Linked DNA regions of Homo sapiens: region 1 is linked to region 2. Evidence: promoter capture Hi-C in 16 types of primary human blood cells and fetal thymus (Javierre and others, 2016). All regions are on one chromosome and are shown on one strand. Each heading gives the region's core, a stretch centred on a gene start or on the middle of the fragment in contact. The rest is flanking DNA. Distances are from core to core; before and after follow the strand shown. Region 1 holds the start of LOC105374365 (a long non-coding RNA gene). Region 2 holds the start of BLOC1S4 (biogenesis of lysosomal organelles complex 1 subunit 4).

What was found. The method cuts DNA at HindIII sites, captures the fragments that hold promoters and counts their contacts. A CHiCAGO score of 5 or more calls a contact.
Region 1: a fragment that was not itself captured here is called in contact with the fragment with the promoter of BLOC1S4 in region 2 in 2 of 17 cell types (neutrophils and megakaryocytes); the score reaches 5.9 in neutrophils.

The regions. Positions count from the first base shown.
Region 1 is chr4:6,564,648-6,572,044 of GRCh38, reverse strand. It overlaps LOC105374365 (a long non-coding RNA gene), which reads right to left and starts at 3,316. Exons shown (of 3, transcript XR_925098.3): 1 at 2,920-3,316. The HindIII fragment of the contact is 5,024 bases long and covers 1-4,007 here.
Region 2 is chr4:6,713,250-6,721,055 of GRCh38, reverse strand. BLOC1S4 (biogenesis of lysosomal organelles complex 1 subunit 4) reads right to left here and starts at 4,882. Exons shown (of 1, transcript NM_018366.3): 1 at 3,392-4,882. The coding sequence starts at 4,846. The coding sequence ends at 4,193. It overlaps LOC105378240 (a long non-coding RNA gene), which reads right to left. Exons shown (of 3, transcript XR_001741568.3): 2 at 7,189-7,245; 3 at 6,911-7,032. RefSeq lists enhancers at 3,841-4,480, 4,963-5,162 and a silencer at 4,633-4,682. The HindIII fragment of the contact is 17,705 bases long and covers 1-7,806 here.

The DNA of each region.
Region 1 (7,397 bases), core at 246-2,745, 150 kb after region 2:
GCTGGTCTCAAACTCCTAGCCTCAAGGGATTCTCCGAAAGTGTTGGGATTACATGCATAAGCCACTGTGCCTGGCCCATGGGCGGGCTTGTGACACACTTGTTACAAAGAGAATGTAGTGAAAGTTGTACTGTGTGACTTCCATGACATCCATGTTCACTGGAGCACTCGTGCCTGGAGGCCTGAGTTGCCCTGTCAGCAGTCCAACTACCCTGAGGCCACCATGCTGTGAGGAAGCCCAACCAGCCCACATGGGGCAGACCACAGGGAGCAGCTCAAGATCACCATGCTGTTTCAGCTCCAGCCCCCCATCTGACTACAACAACATGTGAGACCTCATGTCATTTTCTCTCCTGCCCACTGTATCACAGCTGTGTAGGGTTTCATTTGTACTTTCCTCAAGGCTCTTGCGTGAGCTCTTGCTGCAGCTAGTCTCAGGCTTGAAGGTGATACTCACAACCCCCTCCTGGATTATTCATTCAGATCCCTTTCACCCTCAGCTAGACCCATGCTGGACTAGATAGCTTACCTGGTGGGTTGCCCCAGATCCTCACCAACGAGGATGAGCCCCTGGTGACCATTCCCTTCTTGAGCCATAGCTGCTCACTTGCCTATTTGCTGACTACATCAGGTGAAAGAGTCCTGAGGGACACCCATGTGGGTGGCACACAGTCTTCTCTGCTTCCATTGTGTGACAGCAACCCTACCTCCTCTGATGGTTCAGGTCAACTGCCCCTGCTCGATGGGTGACTCTTCCCCTGCCTACTGGTGTCTTGACATGAGTAGCCTGGCGTGACTGGTGTCGCTTGGTGGAAGCATTCCCCTTTGGAAACCAGAACCTCTGAACCTACAGAATCTGTAGTTGTGTGGACAGGAAGCACATATTCTCCAAGTAGGTCACTGAGAGTGATGCTAAATTAGGCTATTCCTGCTTCCATTCTTTGGTTCTTAGGCCCAGGTATTTTACCCACTGGGGACATCGTGTACTGGTCATTGACTTGGGATGTACATACACCCTGGAGGATGGTGCCCTTGCTTCACAGGTGGCACCTCCAAGCTGGTGCTGTGGCTGAGCCTTCAACTGGCCACTCCATTTCCCCATCAGCCAGCAGCCTCTGGGTTGTACAGCACATAATAGGACCACTAGACACCATGGGTGTGCCTGCGGTTGCACCTCTTTTGCTGTGAAGTGGAGCCCTTGGCCTGATGTGATGTTACACCCTCGCTTGGGGCTCTAATACTGGAGCAAGCCGGCCACCATGTCATGAGGACTCTCAAGCCATCTGTGGAGAGGCCCATCTACAGAGGAACAGAGGCCTCCCACCAACAGCCGGCACTGTCTTGCCAGCCCGGGTGTGAGTGCCTTGGAAGCAGGCCCTCCAGCCCAGGCCCAGCCATTCCAGAGGACATCCTGACTGCAACCTCAGGGAGGCCCACAAGGCACAACACACAGCGAAGCCACCCTGGATTCTTCACCTGCAGACACCGGGATGATCATAAACGTCTATTGCTGCTTTCAGCCACATTTCTTGAAATATTTGGGTATTTTTCCCTAGTGTCTGGTTACCTGAGTCAATGAGCATCAGTCCTGTTGGGGAAGGAGTAGGGGATTCCCATAGGCCTTTGTTACGATGTTGCAGAGTCCTTCTTCCTGGAAACACGCTTTTCCTTTCAGTGGATGGGATCTGGACTTGAAAACTGGCTCAGGTCTGGACACTGGGCAAGGGATCAGGATTTATCTTTGGGTGGCTACCCTCAACTTCCTAACCCCATCTGCCTTGATTTGTCCAGAGAGGATGGGCCAAGTCTCACCTGTGTCAGCCATCCATCTATCTTGCCTCTTTCTTTCTTTCTTTCCTTCCTTCTTTCTTTCTTTTTCTTTCTTTCTTTCTTTCTTTCTTTCTTTCTTTCTTTCTTTCTTTCCTTCTTTTTCTTTCTTTCTCTCCTTTCTCCTTCCTTCCTTTCTCTCTTTCCTTCCTTCCATCTCATTCCTTCCTTCCTTCCCTTCCCTTCCCTCCCTCCCTTTCTTTCGTCTCTCTTTCTCCTTCCTTCCTCTCTCTCTTTTCTTCCTCCCTTCCTTCCTCCATCTCCTTCCTTCCTTTCTTTCGCTTTCTTTCTTTCTATCTTTCTCCTTCCTTTCTTCCTTCTCCTTCCTTCCATCTCCTTCCTTCCTTCCTTCCCTCCCTCCCTCCCTCCTTTCTTTTTCTTTCTTCCTTCCTTCCTTCTTTCCTTCCTTCCTTCTTTTCTTTTCTTTCTTTCTCTCTCTCTTTCTTTCTTTCTTTCTCTCTCTCTCTCTTCCTTTCTTTCTTTCTTTCTTTCTTTCTTTCTTTCTCTCTCTCTCTCTCTCTCTCTCTTTCTTTCTTTCTTTCTTTCCTCTCTTTCTCTCTTTCTTCTTTCTTTTTTTTGGAGTTTTACTCTTGTTGCCCAGGCTGGAGTGCAATGGCATGATCATGGCTCACTGCAACCTCCACCTCCTGTGTTCAAGCAATTCTCCTGCCTCAGCCTCCCGAGTAGCTGGGATTACAGGAGCCAGCCACCACGGCCTGGCTAATTTTTTTTTTTTTTTAAGTAGAGATGGGGTTTCACCATGTCGGCCAGGTTGGTCTTGAACTCCTGACCTCAGGTGATCTACCTGCCTCAGACTTTCAAAGTGCTAGGATTATAGGCATGAGCCACCACACCCGGCCAGGTGCCGTTTTCTATCAAGCATCTCCATGGCTCGCCGTGGACCTCACTGTGTTCCAGCCTTGGTGCTTGTTAAAGTGATTGCACTGACCTTGCTTCCAGTGGTTTGGTGCAGGCTCCTAGCCCCTTATTTCTGGATCCTCTTATTCCCAGCTCTCTCAGCAAACCTGGTTCTGTAACGGCACCTCCCACCACCCACCCTGGCCTATGGTGGACAGCCCCATCCCTGAGCTACCTGGTGAAGCCGGTGCTGGGTCAGTGGGACGTCCTTGGTGGTGTCTTGTGGAACGCTGTCACCCAGTGGGTTTTCTGCCTGCTCCGGTCCATGCCCACTTCTCTGTCTTTTGATCCCTTCTTCTGTCATCTGCCATCTTTCTCCAAGTTTCAAGAGCCACTTCAGCAGTGCGTTAGCACTGTCTCCTGCTGTTAAATCCGGCATGACTGGTGTGTTAGTCATCTCGGGCTGCCATAAGAAGAAACCACAGACTGAGCGGCTTAAACAGCAGACATTTATTTTCTCCTGGTTCTGGAGGCTGGAAGTCCAAGATCAAGGTACCAGCAGGATCGGTTTCTGGAGAGGGCTCGCTTCTTGGCTTGTAGATGGCTCTCTTCTCCCTGTGTCCTCATATAGCCTTTCCTCTGTGCATGTAAGGCAGGAGGAAGGGGGAGGGAAGGAAGAGGGAGGGAGGGAGAGAGAGAGAGAGAGAATGAGATCTGGTGTCTTTTCCTTGTTTTCTAAGGATACCAGGCTTATCAGGTTAGGGTCTCACCCTGATGACCTCATTTCACCTTAATCACGTCCTTATAGGCCCTATCTCCAAATACAGTCACATTGGAGGTTAGAGCTTCCATCTATGAATTTTTTTGGGGAATACAATTGAGTCCATAACAATGGGAGAAGTCCCCCATTTCATGAGCTCCTCCTGCCCTTGATCCGGTCCCAAGAGCACTGTCCCACCCCCACTGCTCCGTGCTGGCTGGGTCCATAGCTCCTTTGGGGTGTAGTCTTGTCCTCCCTGGCTGGCCCAGCATGTCCCCAGGTGGGTGTGGTTGTGGCTTAACCCCAGTGATGAATCTGGTGGGCGGCACAGGTTATAGGTGGATTCGGAGGGCAGGATGTTTGGTCTTCCACGTTGAAGGCCGCGGTATCATCTTTAGGCAAGGAGAGAGCCTGTTATCCTCTGAGGGAGGACTTGGGCAATTCTGCAGGCCCAGAGTGTCCAGGTAAATCTGGGGAACCACAGGTGGAGACTGTGCATTCACCCAGACATCCCATCGCGCTCTTCTTGGAGTCCCACTCCTTTGTGATCAGGTCTGGAAGCTTGGCATTGCAGACCTGACAAGGTTGGGGACCTGGCCTAGTCTGCAGCACCCCTCTTCATAACTCAGCCCTGGGCTGGTTCTTGCTTTTTTTTTTTTTTTTGAGACAGAGTTTTTGCTCTTGTCTCCCAGCCTGGAGTGCAGTGGCGCGATCTCGGCTCACTGCAACCTCCACCTCCCGAGTTCAAGCAATCCTCCTGCCTCAGCCTCCTGAGTAGCTGGGATCACAGGCGCCTGCCACTACACCCAGCTAATTTTTGTATTTTTAGTAGAGATGGAGTTTCACCCTGTTGGCCAAGCTGGTCTTGAACTCCTAACCTCAGGTGATCTGCCTGCCTCGGTCTCCCAAAGTGCTGGAATTACAGGCGTGAACCATGACACCTGACAGGGATCACATTTCAACATGAGATTTGGAGGGGACAAATATCCAAACTCCATCAGGAGGGTAGGGTAGGGGGTACAGTTTTAAACTGGGTACAATTTAAAGGGGTGCAGTTTTAAATAGCAAAAGCCACATTGAGAAAGTGACATCTGAGCAGGAGGTGCAGAAGAGGGCGGTGTGGATGTCTGGGGACCAACCTTACCAAACTTACTGGGCAGCAGTCACTGCAAGTGCAAAGGCCCTGAGGCAGCACCATACCTGGTAAGCTCAGGAGCCAGCAAGGAGATCCCTGTAGCTGGAATGGAGGGAACCAGGGGAAGAACAACAGGAGGGAAGGTTCTAGAGTGGGGGGCAGTGGGCAGATATGGGGCTTTGGAATTTACTCTGAAGGAGATGGGAGCCATTGCAGGATTTTGAGCAAAGAGTGAGGTGATCTGACTTATGTTGTAAGAGGATCCCTCTGACTGCTGTGTTGCTGGGTGGAGAACACACCAGCCCCGGCCGGGGCAGAAGTGGGGAGACCAAGTAGGAGGTGCGTGCAATAGTCCAGGTGAGACATGATGGTGGCTGGGACCTGGGAATAGCAGTGGGGGTGGTGACATATGGTCGGGCTTGAATGTGTTTTGCAGGAAGAGCTGACGGAAACTGCTGATGAATTTGATGTGCTGTTTGAGCCGTGGGGAGTCAGGGATGATGATGTGGTCTAGGTGCAATGTGCACAGGCCCGTGTTGATACAAAGCATTTATTTCATTTCCCCTTGGTCTCTTCTAATGGCTGGTCTGAGTTGGTTTCTTTTTCCTCCTCAACTGTTTTCTGAGCTGTACCAGCACTGAGAGTGTCCATCCTGGCCTTGGGGACACACCCTTTTGTGGCTAGGGTTGGGGGAGGGGATTCCTCATTGCAGTGAAGTTGGGGGAGTCTCCTGGGTTGGGGGAAGTGTCTGGGCAGCTTCTGTGACAATCTCAGATGAAAGTTCAGCTTCACTTCACGGGGGTTGGCATTTCACTGCAGGGACAGACTACAGCCTAGAAACATTTCTTTCTAAGAACAGGCTCTGGCGTGCCCAGCCCGAAGAGGCTATTTTAGGTTTTGGGTTCTGTTACTTTGGTTACTAGTAGCAAATTGTTGTCAGAAAAAAAGCTGATGCCAAATGTGTATCCCCCCGCCAACCCCCACTCTGAAGAGATGTTCTGCAAAATGCTTCTCATTTGAATCAAAGCTCTGTCATGAAAAACGCAGGTTCCAGAGGGGCCTATACAGCAACGTGGACTCTTTCAGATCATGCTAGTGTTCTCTGGCATTGATGCTCCTCGAAACGGCCATCGCTACCCTTGCGAAGTGTAGTGTGTGCCCTCGCCCTTCTTCATCAGACTTGTCCCAGGTGACTCACAAGGAGCAACAGCCTGACCTCTGCAGGTGTGAGAGTTTGCGATAGGGGCCCACCAGCGCCATCTCCCATTCAGTCTGCACCCTGTGACATCAGCACTCTTCGTCCTCCTGAGCAAGTGGGACAGTTCTGGGGGACTTCCTCTTGCTTTAATGGGCGAACTGCTTGAGACTACGTCCAGTGCCAAACAGTCTTCCCGATCAGCAGCATGGACCCTGGCATACTCCTACCTCCAAACCTTCTATGGCTACCCAGTGTCTCTCAGGAAACCTCATCCTCAGCCTGCATTGCAAACAATTCAGGGTTTAGCCCCAACTTGCTTTTTTGGCCGTACCTCCCACATGCTTGTACTACATTCCTTCCAGCAACTGCAAACAGGCCCCATGGCTCCCCATCCTCACCCCCCTTTCCTCCTCTGTGTGTCTCTTCTGCCTAGAATGAGCTGGCTTCCTTTGGCCACCACCCTTGCACGACTGGATCCTTCAAGTCCCTTCCTACCTCAAGCCCTTTGCACGTGCTGACCCTCCTGCCTGGAAGCACTGCCTCCACTCTGTGCAGTGGACTGCTATTCCTCCTTTGTGTCTTGCACATGGAAGGCCAAAGAGAGCGTCTGTGAACCTCCCCTCTCTACAGCATTGATGGCTGTATAGAATTCAATAGTAACGTGTGCATTTGGTTAACATCTTCCTCACCCGCTACACCATACGCTCCGTGAGACTTCGTTTTGTTCACTACCAGATTTGGCACCTGGGAGAAAGGAGGGGCTGTCTACCTTCCGTCGAAAGAATAAATGAATGTATTATTACCTGCATGCCTGTCTCCCTTGCACACTCAAGGAAATGGGCCATGCCCTGGTGTGTGCAGAAAGCTCAGCTGAGGGGCTCATCCCACCTCCACAGCTCACCTGCAGTGTGAGCAAGTCACTTAACCCTGGGGCAGGGACGATGCATCCCATGGCTCCTGGCAGCCTGACCCAGAGCCTCCAGGTTCTAACCTTTAAAATGGGGATATTTATGCCTATTCATAGGGTTGTTGTAAATATGAAACTAGGCCATGCCAAGTGACTGCCCGGGACCTGACCCAGGTCCACCCCACCTCAGGCTGTAAGGCTACCCGTGGGACATGTATTTATCAGGAAACCCCGCCATGCCCTGACGCTGTGCCAGGCAGAGGGCTGGGAACTGAGAGAACAGGGGCTGATGCTGCTGCAGGATGACCTCGTGTTGGAAGACAGGCACTGCCCCGGGGAGAGGCTGCTCTGGGGCTTTTGGGGCTCCTGGGAGGACCCTGGAGGCCTTCCTGGAGGTGGAGGTGACGAAATTGGACTTTCAAGGCCAAGAAGGAAGAGGGAGGGGGTCAGAGGCTTAGAAGGCAGATCCCTCCTGCTAGGTGAGGTGTAGAGGGGCTAGGGTGCAGCTCACGGGCCTAGAACTGGGCTAAGGTGGGGTGGGGTGGCCTGACCTTTGGCCTGGGGCCTGCAGCACTCTTTCCTTCCCTCTGCTCTCCTTCTTCTGCTCCCTGGAGAGCCTATCCTTAGCCATCCCTGCTCCTCTCCCTTCCTGGGAGGGGAGGGTAGGAGAGGGGGGAGTGGGGGGATTAACGTGTGTCCCTGTGGCTGTCTGC
Region 2 (7,806 bases), core at 3,633-6,132:
GAAGGGGGAAGGTTGGAGGAAGACGCATCCACAGGCCCTGGCCAAGGGAGGCGGGAGCTGGGCTGACGGGGGAGCAGCCTGTGGGCCCTGAAACCCTCCCTGCTCTCCTTGCCAGCACCTGCTCATCCTCAATGTCCCTGTCATTCCCTCAGTGGGTACGTTTTCAGTGCCTTCTCTGTGCTAGGTGCCTGGTACCAGGTGTCACGGATTCAGAGTGGACAAAATGGAAAAACACCACAATCTTCCTCCTCGTTGGGGAGACAGACAAACTGTACATAAATAAATGATCGTGCTCCTTTCGGGGAGAGATAAGAGCCAGGTGGACATAAACAGGCCTTGTCTTCTGCCCCCACCAGACAGGGCACGTCCAAATTAGCACCCTGTCTGCCTCCCTCACCTAATTTCCTCCCCTCCTACCCCCATGCAAATATAGCCACTGTGCCTTGGGCTGCAGCTGCCGTCCCCACTCTGTCTGCACACTGGGAGCCCCTCGAGCATGGACAGGATCTTGGGGCTCTGAATTTCCAGTGCCCAGTGACCGTGGCAGGATATAAGGCTTTAGTTTCCCGAGGACAGGGGCTGGACCAGCTGTTTTCAGGCCTTTCCCGCTCCTGCAGCGCCCCCTGGTGTGGGGGGACCAGTCTCTGCAGCCACCGCGGACCCCACACCCCACAGCCAGAGGGTCCTCGCATCCTTCCTGATGACCAAGTTCCCTCCCACGGGCTCACACCCGACCGCTGGAACCCTTGCTTCCCTTGGACCATGAACAGTATAGAGGAGACGCTCTCATTCTCCATTAGTGGGTCAAATGGTTTCAGTCACTTTGGGAAATGGTGGTTTGTGGTTTTTTTAATTAAATTAATTTTTTTTTTTTTGAGACAGGGTTTTGCTCTGTTACCCAGGTTGGAGGACAGTAGCGTGATCACAGCTCACTGCAGCCTTGAACTCCTGGGCTCAAGTGATCCTCCTGCCTCAGCCTCCTGAGTAGCTGGGACTACAAGGCACGAGCCACCGTGCCTGGCTAATTTTTGTATTTTTAGTAGAGCCGGGGTCTCACTATGTTGCCCAGGCTGGCCTCGAACTTCTGGCCTCCAGTGATCCTCTGGCCTAGGCCTCCCAAAGCCCTGGGAATACAGGCATGAGCCACTGTGCCTGAATCTGGATAACTTCTCAGCACATAAAAGGAGTCTTCTTAGAAGGATAGTTTTGTAAGTTCTGTATCAACATCCCAGGGCACGATTAGGAACAAAGCCCCATTGGAGCCCACGGGAATGTCTGTGTGGTGTTTGACTGAACCTTAGGTTGGACTCAACTGGATTGGGCGTCTGACTTTCTCACCCACTGGCCTGCCCAGCTCTTGGGAAAGAATCACATCTTGTTTTTCTTTGTGTCCTAGTCTTCCCATGGTGCTTGATTTCTGAGCCAGCCCTTAGTCTGACTGAATTCTCCTGTCTGCCTTTCTGTCTCGCATTCCTTATGGAGTGCCTACATTTTGTGTAGTCGTTCATTCACTCAGTCACTCTGACAATCGCTTATTGCACAGATATGTGAGTGTACCAGGGATGTGCTACCTGCTTGCTGAGCATGCAGCCAAGTGGATGCAGCTAACATCCACTTGTTACTCCAGGTGAGTAAGGCAGACAGTCATCAGATAATGACACAAACACATTTCACAAACTGTAACAAGCGCTATGAAGGGGACAGTTCATATGTCCCCTTTCCATATCCTCATATGAAAGATGCTATGGGGCATCTTTCGAGGTCAAGGGAAGGCTGCAGGGGAGTGAGCAAGGGGGCAGGAGCCACCTCAAGCCAGAGAACAGAAATTGGGCTTTATTCTAATATGAAGAGAAGCTAATGAGAGCTTTAGGCAAAGCCCAATATGTCTGATTTATGTTGTTTAAAGACCCCTTTGGCTGATGTGTTACATGCGGGAGTGGCTTGGAGCGGGGAAGGGGAAGCAGGAGACCACTTAAGAGGCTGTTGAGTGGCCCAGGAGAGATGCCAGTGGCTTGGATGGGTTGGGTAGCAGTGGGGATGGACAGAGCACTGGGAATATGCATTGTGGGAGTGCCAAGGTGGATAGGTGGATATTAGTTCTTTTTTCTTTTTTTTCAGACAGAGTCTTGCTCTGTCGCCCCGGCTGGAGTGCAGTGGCGTCATCTCCGCTCCGACTCCCGGGTTCACACCATTTTCCCGCCACAGCCTCCTGAGTAGCTGGGACCACAGGCGCCCACCACCATGCCTGGCTAATTTTTTTTTTTTTTTTTTGTATTTTTAGTAGACAGGGTTTCACCATGTTAGCCAGGATGGTCTCGATCTCCTGACCTTGTGATCCGCCTGCCTCAGCCTCTCAAAGTGCTTGTGAACTACCGCGCCCGGCCCCTAATTACTGCTTTTGAATGTTAACTTTAAGTGAAAAATCTTTTAGCAATGTTTTGTTATGTAAGGATATTTTCATATTCAGTGACTATGTCATCGAAACACATGAATTACTTATAGGGGTACCAGCAGTTGCTGAATATTAAATGTAGGTTACTTGTTCTTTCAGCTTCTACATTCAGAGTTCCTTAATTTGTCGTCAATGAACCACCTGAATAAAAAACGTAAATATGTGACAATGAAGGTCCACGAAAGCTAGGTGCAAGATTACATGATCAGATTCTTCACAACACACAGCTAAATGAAAATACAGCTACTCTATGAACCTCAAAGATCTTTGATGACACTGCAAATGACACAAAAGCAACCTAAGCTGTATGCTTTTTTAGCATCTACTATTTAGGAGGGCCACCTTATAAAATAGATTTGAATCTCAATAAAAGTCTACTGTATCCGCAGGAAAATCCTAATACCATTCACTCACACAAATAATTTAACTATCCATTTCGAGAGGAAAGAAATATACCATGCTCTGGACGGGCGCGGTGGCTCACGCCTGTAATCTCAGCACTTTGGGAGGCCGAGGCAGGTGGATCACGAGGTCAGGGGATCGAGACCATCCTGGCTAACACAGTGAAAACCCGTCTCTACTAAAAAAAAATACAAAATACAAAAAAAATTAGCCGGGCATGGTGGCAGGCGCCTGTAGTCCCAGCTACTCAGGAGGCTGAGGCAGGAGAATGGCGTGAACGCGGGAGGCGGAGCTTGCAGTGGGCCGAGATTGCGCCACTGCACTCCAGCCTGGGCGACAGAGCATGACTCCGTCTCAAAAAAAAAAAAAAAAAAAAAAAAGAAAAGAAATATACCATGCTCTGAAATAGAAGCTACAGCTTTTCACATTAGCTCTCTAAAGGAGGTATACTCAAGCCCCTTTTCTTTATCCCACTACTAAAAAAGCACATGAGCAGTACGTCTATTTCAAACACACACAAGGAAATACGTAAAGCTCTTTTCAGAAGGAAATCATTTCCAATAAAACTCAAAATTTCTATTAACATTTAAATTATAAACCAAACATTGGCAACCCACATATATATATACACACACACACACATATGTTTGCTATGGACAAATGAAGACTGTGAGGTCATACTTTCAAATACAACTTTGGAATTAGTCACAAAAAATCAACATATATTCTCAGAAATTGTACCATTTCCTTTGGTCTACAATCCACGCTATAGGAGGTTTAATATAATATTAAATAATGTACCATTTACCCTAAAAGTAGGTTCTAGAAAACTGACTATTAGGATTGAATAACAAGGCTTTAATGGCTCAATTTTCTTATGATTATACAAACATATAAATCTTGAAAAGGTAACGCCATTTAGTAAAATCCATAAAAATAACAGTTTTGCCACAGTGCAGAGAAAAGTTCATTCAGTTTGATTCCCCATGCCCTCGACAAGCAGCTTTCTGATTAGAGCTGGAAGACACAGGCTGGGTGCAGTGGCGACCCCGTAGTCCCAGCTACTGGGGAGGCTGAGGTGGAAGGATCACTTGAGCCCAGGAGTTTCCGAACAGTCTGGGCAACATACCAAGACCCTGTCTCTTTTTTTAAACTTGGAAGACATAAAGTCTATACATTCTACACTGAATCATGAATATACTACGGAGAGTTTGTAGAAAGTAAACTTTAAAATCCCACACTCCAACATCATATATGTCCATAAGCAGGATTTGCAATTCACTTCATACTGGAGGTAAGCACCCCAGCTGGGGTCCTCTTGCCGCAGTGGTCAGGCCGTCAGAGCTGAGGCCTTTCACTGCAACAAGGGAAGTAGTCTTCGGTCCGAAACAGGACGGGGGCTTCGTAGCCGGCTTGCTGTGGCCTCGAGGGAGCAGACTTGCTAAAGAGCGAGGGCACGTTCATCGTGTGCAGGAGCTTCTTGAACGCCCTGGGGAAGGTGCCCAGCTCGGCCTCGGCCTTGGTGACCTGCTCCTCCATCCTGGCCACGCGGCCCCCCACCATCCTCACGAAGGCCTCCAGCCGGTCGATCCTGCTGTAGATGCGCCGCATCTCGGCGGCCTTCGCGTGGATGCGCGGCACGCCCTCGCTGACGACGTGGGACGAGTCGCCGCGAAGCATGTCCAGCATGCCCACGAACTCGTCCACTCTGGTAAGCAGGTCCTCTAGGCTCGCGTCCAGGGCCTCGACCTCGGGCCGCGCCCCGGCCCCGGGCAGCAGGCAGGCGGCGTAGCCCGCAGCGGCGCGGCGAAGCAGCGGCAGGTCGCGGCCCGGCGCGCCGTCCTCCGCGCCCTCGTCCTCCCACGGCCCCGAGGCGCTGCTGTGGCTCTGGGAAACAGTGCCACTGTCCCCGCTCCAGGCGGCGCCCTGCGGCTCGGCCTCTTCCGCGAGCCCCTCCGGCAGCGCTCCGCCATCCGAAAAGCTACCCTCCATGGCCCGCGACCACCCGACTGCGCAGCGCTCGCTTCCGGCCTCCGCGCGCTCACGCTCACGCACCCGCACACGCACGCACGCGCGCTCACGCCTTTGCTTCCGGCGGCCTGCGAGGGCGTCTGTTCACGCGCATCCACCTTTGTTTCCGGCCTCCCAGCGCGCTCACGCTCACGCATGCGCGCTCACGCTCACGCATGCGCGCTGCTGTTTTCTCACGCCCGAACTCACATTCAACCTTTTTTTTCTTTTTTAAGCGAAGGTATAGCAGGAATACAATACAGTGCATACATTTTAAGTGTGCACATTGATGACTTTGTACACATCCATACAACCATGCATCTTCTATCCAGACCAACAGGTAGGACATGTCCAGCACCCATGAACGTCTCCCTCCTGTCCTTCATTTCTTTTTGCTGTTTATAGTAAAATAAATGAGATAAGCAAGACGAAACACAAAAGGGATGGACCTTGACGACTTTGGATGATTTTTAAAGTCCTCAGCTTCGCCTGATTGCAAATGGCGTAAAACTAAGAAATAGTAATAGTTTCCAAGCAAATATCAAATCCAGGGTACTGCCAGAAAAAAACAAAGGTGAAGTTGAGATGTGACGGTTAAATCCTTTAAAATCTCAAAAAAAAAAGCAAAGACGGTGCCTGAGAATACCATTCAGTTAGACTAACAGCTCCTTAAAGAGATTAATGGTGTGGCTCACAGAGTCCATCAGTCAAACCACAAGGCCTCCAGAAGGCTTAAGGCTTGTTCGTCAGTATTAGCAGAAGCCCAAGATAGAGATGGACTTATCTCAAAGGGATTTGTAGGTAGCACTTTTGTTTAACGGAGTGAACCCCGATGAGATTCACAGGAGACCTATAAAGTTTTTTAAAGATAATTATATTGACACAAACATTGCAGATTGGACTGAAAGGAACAGGCCTTTGGATCCCCTCTCCCCAAACTTGTACAAGCAGGAATCAGACTGAGAAAAAGACTCATTGGCAAACACATGCCACATTTCACAAAAAAGGAAGTATAACTCAGGGCATGAAACCAGGAGCCCAGATGGTGGAACTGGGAGTCATGGAGTCCTAGACCTTGAGACTGGATGGCAGAGTTACTGTGGGCTGGCAACTTGTTTGTACTTCCAATTTCCCCCTTTTTGAACAGGAGTGGCAGTGGCTAATCTAGTCGTAGTGGAGCAGAACAGGTCTGTAGTGATTATCCTGTGCCAGCCCCACAACTGTATATTCCAGGCATGGGGGCAGAGAACTTGTCTCCTTAGTTTCAAAAGTCTACAGATCAAGAAGAATTGTACTCTAGGAGCTGAATTTAAGGAACTAAGCTCAGAAAGCCTCATCTACATCTGATCTTATTGAGAAGACAAAATTCTGGACTTAAAGCTGATGTGACAATAGGATAGTAATACCTAAAACTACATGAGATTTAAAAAAATGTAACTTTTGGGGACCTTGGATAGAGGGGAGTGTGGTTAGCACGTTAAAATGGCATGAAGAATTGGTAGTCAGGGGGCAAACTGTGATTGCTAGCCAGCCTTCAAGATGACTCCCAGTGATTTCTTACTCCTGGTATTCTCACTCTTGTGTATTCCCTCTTGTCGAGTATGTACTGGACTTAGTGACTTCATTTGCTCATAATAAACTGAAAAACACAGAAGTGATGATGTATGATTTGGACATTAGTTCATGAAAGGTAGTGTGGCATCTCTTTCCTTCCAACCTGCGAAAGGAAGATAAATCTTGGGGTCCTACAATTACTAAGCTAAAAGAAAAGTCAAGTTGGAAACTGCTTAGGGCAAACCTGCCTCACATTCTATTCACAGTCACTTCTCCGCTCACTGAGATAAATGCGTATCTGATTGCCACCTTTGGAGAGGCTAATCAGAGACTCAAAATGTCTGGGCGCGGTGGCTTACGCCTGTAATCCCAGCACTTTGGGAGGCTGAGGTGGGTGGATCATTTGAGATCACGAGTACAAGACCAGCCTGGCCAACATGGTGAAACCCTCTTTTAAAAATACAAAAATTAGCCGGTTGTGGTCGTACACACCTGTAATCCCAGCTACTTGGGAGACTGAGGCAGAAGAATTGCTTGGACCTGGGAGGCGCAGGTTGCAGTGAGCCGAGATCACGCCACTGCTCTCCAGCCTGGGCGACAGGGTGAGACTCCATCTCAAAATAAATAAATAAATAAATAAATAAAATTTTAAAAGAAAGAAAGAAAAAAAGAAACTCAATAGAATGCAACCATTTTTCTCTCATCTACCCAAGACCTGGAAGCCCCCTCCCCGCTTCAAGTTGTCCTGCCTTTGCTTTGAGTTGTCTCACCTTTCCGGACCAATCCATCGTTCATCTTAGATATGTTGATCGATGTCTCATGTCTCCCTAAAATGTATAAAACCAAGCTGTGCTCTGACCACCTTGGACACATGTCATCAGGACCTCCTGAGGCTGTGTCACGGGCACACATCCTCAACCTCGGCAAAATAAACTTTCTAAATGAACTGAGACCTGTCTCAGATATTGGGGGTTCACAAACCACTTGCTCTGGGGAAACCAGCTGCCTTGTTGTGAGCAGCTCCATGGAGAAGCCCATATAGCAAAGAACTGAGACCAACAGCTAGGGAAAAACAGCCTCTTTCCAACAACTACATGAGTAAGTCATCCTGGAAGGGGATGCTCCATCCTCATTCAAACTCAGAAATGACTGCAGCCCCAGCTGATAGGTTGACTGCAACCTCATGTAAGATACTAAACTGAAATGACATAAGATAATGCTATGGTCTGAATATTTGTGTCCTCACATCCAAATTCATATATTTAAATTCTACCCCAGAAGGTGATTGATAGGGTTTGGATGTCCTGCCCAAATCTCATGTTGAAATGTAATCTCCAGTGTTGGAGCTGGAGCCTGGTGGGAGGTGACTGGGTCATGGGGACAGATTT